2 separate regions of the Homo sapiens genome follow, and region 1 is linked to region 2. The links are contacts of gene promoters, found by promoter capture Hi-C in blood cells and fetal thymus (Javierre and others, 2016). All regions are on one chromosome and are shown on one strand. Each heading gives the region's core, a stretch centred on a gene start or on the middle of the fragment in contact. The rest is flanking DNA. Distances are from core to core; before and after follow the strand shown. Region 1 has its middle 18 kb from the start of POGZ. Region 2 holds the start of LINGO4 (leucine rich repeat and Ig domain containing 4).

Region 1 (2,723 bases), core at 209-2,708, 330 kb before region 2:
GTCAGAAATTGAATGTGCCCTGGCTGATTGCAATTTATTTATTCACTTAATGCGTATTTATTGAGTACAAGGCCTTAGAGTTTCCTCAGTTCTTATAGTCTGTAACAGTGCCATTCCATAGGAATGTAATGAGAGCCACATATATAATTTACAATTTTCTAGTAGCCACATTAAAAAATTAAAAAGAAACTGATAAAATTAATGTTAATATTAATATATTTTATTTCACCAAATATATCTAAAAATATATCTAAAATATTATCCTAATATGTAATTAATATACTTTTATTGGTTTTTTTTTTTTGTTTTTTTTTTTTTTTTGGGGACAGGGTCTCACTCTGTCACCCAGGCTGGAGTGCAGTGACACAATCATGGTTCATTGCAGCCTCAACCTTCTGGGCTCAGATGCTCCTCCCACCTCAGCCTCGTGAGTAGCTGAGACCACAGGCATTTGCCACCAGCTAATTTTTTGTATTTTTTTGTAGAGACAGGATTTCCCATGTTGCCCAGGCTGGTCTCCAACTCCTGGGCTCACGCGATCCACCCGCCTTGGTCTCCTGAAGTGCAGGGATTACAGGCATGAGCCACTAGAAATTATTAACAAATTATTTTACATTCTTCGTTTTGAATTAAGTTTCTCGAATTTACTTACAGCAAATCTCACATTGCACTAGCCACATTTCAGGTACTAAAAAACTACATGTGATTAATGGTTACCATACTGGGCAGTCCATGTCTAGAGAGAAATACAGATGTGTAATTTGTAAACAGGTAAACAGATAATTTCTTTTCTTTTTCTATTTTTCTTTTTTTTTTGAGACAAATTCTCACTCTCCCAGGCCGGAGTGCAGAGGCTCAGTGCAGCCTCCACCCCCTGGGCTCAAGCGATCCTCCCAGCTAACCTCCCCAACTCCCCACCCCAGCAGCTGGGACTACAGGTGGGTACCACCATGTCCAACTAATTTTTATAGAGATAGGTTTTCATCATGTTACCCAGACTAGATAATTTTAATTAAATGTAATAAAGGCTATGATGAGAAAAGTACACTCATCATACAATGAAAGCATAGAAAAGGGGCTTAGTTCCTCCAGTTTTTCCTCCTAAAATCTCATAATTCTCTCTGCTTCTCTGCATCCTGCCTGCCACGACTCTAATCTAAGCCAGATTATCTCTCTCCTAGACTTGCACAACAGCTTCCGAAATTGTCTACCTGCATCTATCCCTGCCCCTGTTTGCAGATAAAGTGAGCTTTTAAAAACGCCCATCAGATCATGTCATTCCTCTGTTTAAAACCTTAAATATATGATGAACACATTGGACAAGTGTGAGATGATGTACATAAAGCGCCCAGCCCAAAGGTTCTGCTCACTGAGTTTAGTTCTCCTCGTTTCTTCCTTTCACTCTCTTTTTTCTTCCTCTTACTTTCCTCCCCAGCTCCTTCCTCTTATCACCTATCAGTCTCTTATCATCTGAATTTCTTTTTTCTTTCTTCCTTCTCACTTGCTTTCCATTTTTTTCTTCCATCTTTACTTTCTCTCCTTTCTGCTTTAGTTTATTTTAATATAGAATTTAAATAGATTTAGAAATTCATTCTTTAATTATTTACTTCTGAGTTCCAAGCTCTTCATTTAAAAATCAAAAGAGTACTGGGCACTGTGGCTCACGCCTGTAATCCCAGCACTTTGGGAGGCCGAGGTGGGCGGATCACCTGAGGTCAGGAGTTCGAGACCAGCTTGGCCAACATGGTGAAAACCTGTCTCTACTTAAAATACAAAAATTAGCCAGGCGTGGTGGCAGGGGCCTGTAATCCCAGCTACTCAGGAGGCTGAGGCAGGAGAATCGCTTGAACCCAGGAGGTGGCGGTTGCAGTGAGCCGAGATTGCACCATTGCACTCCAGCCTGGGGGACAAGAGCGAGACTCCGTTTCAAAATAAATAAATACATAAATAAAAATAAAAATAATAAAAAGAGCTTGGCCAGGTGTGGTGGGTCACACCTATAATTCCAGCATTTTGGGAGGCCAAGGTGGGTGGATCACTTGAGGTCAGGAGTTCAAGACCAGACTGGCCTGGCTAACGTGGTGAAAACCCGTTTCCACTAAAAATACAAAAATTAGCCAGGTGTGGTGGTGCACACCTGTAGTCCCAGCTACTGAGGAGGCTGAGGCAGGAGAATCACTTGAACCTGGGAGGCAGAGGTTGCAGTGAGCCAAGATCACACCACTGCACTCCAGCCTGAGTGACAGAGTGAGACTCTGTCAAAAACAAACAAACAAACAAACAAACAAACAAACAAACAAAAAACTTGACCTTTTATCAGGATTAAATTAAGATGCTTTTTACTTCAGCATGGTCTTCAGTTAATTTTTTTTGTAGGTTGGAGAGCTTCTTTAGAAAAATGCATATAGTTTCCCAGAAGGAGGAAAGCAATCCCCTTCACATTTTATAGGGAGAAAATGGTGCAGTCACTTAGAAAGGGTCATGTGGTGGTGATTTGAAACAAGTCAGAAGAACCCAGGCTCTCGCCACAGCCCTTCCTCTCTTAGGCAAATTTCTGCCTCCTGGCAGTAGAGCAGTGAGGCAAGTTAATTATTCAGTGTTTGTGGAGGTCAATAAATAAATGAAATACCTAATTAAATAAATTTTTGGAGTGCTGAGAGCAGGCAGTTTCCTTAACTTAACACATTTCCTTTGGAGGACCAGTTCTCTTCCTTGAAAGAACA
Region 2 (2,815 bases), core at 300-2,799:
CTGAGGTGACAGAGGAGAAGGGGCCCTCTAGGTGATGAGGGCCCCTGACTCATCCTGTTAGATGTCAACAGGGACCCCAAGGCAGAGGAAGTACTGGAATTGGCAAGGGATGGCTACAGAGATAGGAGCAAAAGCCCATGGATGCTCTCTGGGATACAGCGCGTCTGAGTCTCTGCTGAGCGGCAATCCTGATCACCTTTGGGCTTGTGGGCTTCAGGCTCTCTGGGCTCTACAGGGTCAGCTTTCTACTACATGCCCTGTTTTTTCTCATGTGGAACTTAGGAGAGGCAGTTTAAGAGATGGTCATTTCTTCCCCTTTCCTTCCCACTCTCCACCTCCTAGAAGGATCATTCTAGTGGCTATCCTACAGCCACTTGAGAGGATTGTCCTAGTTGGGAAACTAAAGAAAGAGGCCAAAAGAGCAGAGGGATGCAGAAAACTGGTGTGAGGCTTGGGGATGAAAAAGAATAACGTGGGGCAAAGACTGCAGAGCAGACTCTTCTCGCCCCAAACTGACCTAACAGGTCTCTGTGGCATGCCCAGAGCTCTCCCGGGAAAGATGGCCCAGCCTCCCTTGTTCTCCCTAGGCTTGTTCTGGGAAGTCCACCTGACAGCTAGCTCTTCATCACTACTGCTGCAGTTCCTGCCCATCCTCGCTCTGCATTCAGCAAAAGTGCAGTGAAGCATGTAACCCAGCTTTCTTCCTTCCTGCTCCTGTGAGTTTCCCCTGAGTCCGCTGGGCCAGGGGCTGAGGGAGCTGGAGCAACCTATTTTATTTCTAAGGTGGCTAATTTAATCACAAATTTCCCTTGCCAACCTCCATGGCTGCAGGACCGGCTTCCGGCCACTTTGCAGGAAGCGAGATGTCAGAACCACTTTTTTGTCCCTTCAGTGGGGTGGGGACATCACCAAGACATGACCCTTGAAGGCATCACCCCTCAAGGGTAGGGAGCCTTTTTCTTGTCTTTATGTGGCAGTCCAGAGACACTTTTGAACCTGGGTATCCTGTATCCTCTTTAAAGCACACCTGACTGACAAATGGGAACTGTGTGGGGAGAGGGTTCCTGGGGGAAAGATTTCTGGAAGATCCACACCGATTGTGGAGAAAAACCCTTCCAGAGGAAGGGGAAGCACTGGGGAGATGGAAGGGAGGTCTCCTTGGAGCCCTTCCACCCAGGGGTACTTGGGATATTTGAGTTTCCCCCTCAAAGTCCCATGGGGCCAGGATTAATTGTTAGCAGTGTGGGGGCCCAAACCCTCTTGCCTTGAGGGGCCTGTCTGGCCCCTAGTCTGGCCTGTCTCGGAGAATGTTATGGAAAAGGGCGGCTGCATCTTTGGGACAGAGAGTGGGGGCACTTACCGGAGAAGCTGGAAGGTGGCATCAAGTTTGGCACTGCATCTGTCCAGCGCTGGGGGCCCTGTCCCATTCGAGCTGCACCTCAGGCCCCTGCACCTTCCCTGTGTGCCTCAACCCCCGCTGCCTGGCTGCCCGGCTGCTGCCTGCCGCTGCTGCTGCTGCTGTTGCTGCTGCGGCCGCTGCTGCCAAGACTGAGGTGGAGAAAAGAGCCAGAAAGCATTTCTCCTTTTTTTTTTTCCTCTCTCTCTCTCTCTCTTTTTAAACCAGGCAAGAATGAGTCTGCAGCAACCCTGTTGGTGCAAAATAAATAAATAAAGCAACCAGGGAGGGCTGCAGCAAGCACCACTACAGGCTGGCAAGTGACAGGGGAGGGAGCCAGGAGGGAGGCTCTGGTGCCAGGGAGGGGTCATGCAATAGCAAGAACAGCAGGTTCTAGAGGATCTCTCTGACATCCTGATTCCCCCACTGGGGAGCTTGGGCCAGCCACCTTCCAGAGGACTGTCTTTTGGTCTCCCAGATGTGGAGCAATTCTGTGCAACCTCTAAATCTAAACGTTCCCCGTGGGTATCATTTATGGGAAGTTCTCAGTCTAGAGCATCTCCCGTGGGGCTCAGTTTGAGGCTCCTACAGTGGGGGTTCCTGAAGATTCGTTCACAGTCCTCACTGAGGGACTGCTCCACCTGGGGAGAAACTGCAGGGGTCGGGTGAGGGTGGGTTGGATCTGTATAATGCTGATGGATTGCTGAGCTGGAAACCTGAGTCTTGACCCAGGAATGAGACTGGAGAGCAGGCATGCAGGTAATCTAATTTAAGAATCTCCCCCACCCTCTGACACACACACTTCTTGCCTTTAAAATCATTTTATAAAGAATGGCACAAGTTGGGGTTTATGTTTACTCAGATGAACCCGTCCCCTTAGAGGACACAATCCCACCCCCAACCCCCCCAACTCCACGACTGCCCATCATTGCTGTTAATCCCTCAGGGGAGGGTTCACAGCTGTTTATGAAGCCAAGAGAGGTTCTGGGCAAGATCACAGCTGGGGAAACAGGCCCAGGCCCTGCTCCCTGGTGTCCTCCATGCTGGAGTCAGCGGTGCCCAATGACGGGGTGATGTGATCACATCTGCTTCCTTCTCCACAACAAGAGCAGGGCTGGCGGGCAGGCCAGGAAAGTCCTCCAGGATCTGATCTTGCCTTCCGACTGACCAGTGCGAGCGACTTCTGCTTCTCTTGGGTCTTCTAGTGGTAGAAGACAGCTGGAGCTGGGGTGGTATTTGGATCACCCCAGACCCAAGATCAGTGGACTGGAGCACCATGGAAATGTTTGGGAGGGTCCCTCAGGATTGGGACTTTCCCCTGAGGCCTCTAGGCTCCTCCAAGCTGTGGCCTCAAGGATAAGAGAGATTGTGTCAGGTTCATGTGTCTCTGGAACTGCATGATTGCTGTTGAGTCTGTAT

Evidence for each region. Contacts are between HindIII fragments. The CHiCAGO score rates a contact against its expected background, and 5 or more counts as called.
Region 1: a contact is called between a fragment that was not itself captured here and the fragment with the promoter of LINGO4 in region 2, in 2 of 17 cell types (erythroblasts and naive CD8 T cells). The highest score is 5.3, in erythroblasts.

Annotation. Positions count from the first base shown.
Region 1 is chr1:151,475,820-151,478,542 of GRCh38, forward strand. No RefSeq gene overlaps it. Among named protein-coding and RNA genes, the nearest start is that of POGZ, 18 kb to the left of the region's middle. The HindIII fragment of the contact is 5,172 bases long and covers 1-2,723 here.
Region 2 is chr1:151,803,870-151,806,684 of GRCh38, forward strand. It overlaps LINGO4 (leucine rich repeat and Ig domain containing 4), which reads right to left and starts at 1,550. Exons shown (of 2, transcript NM_001004432.4): 1 at 1,361-1,550. It overlaps RORC (RAR related orphan receptor C), which reads right to left. Exons shown (of 11, transcript NM_005060.4): 11 at 2,202-2,815. The HindIII fragment of the contact is 4,610 bases long and covers 1-2,815 here.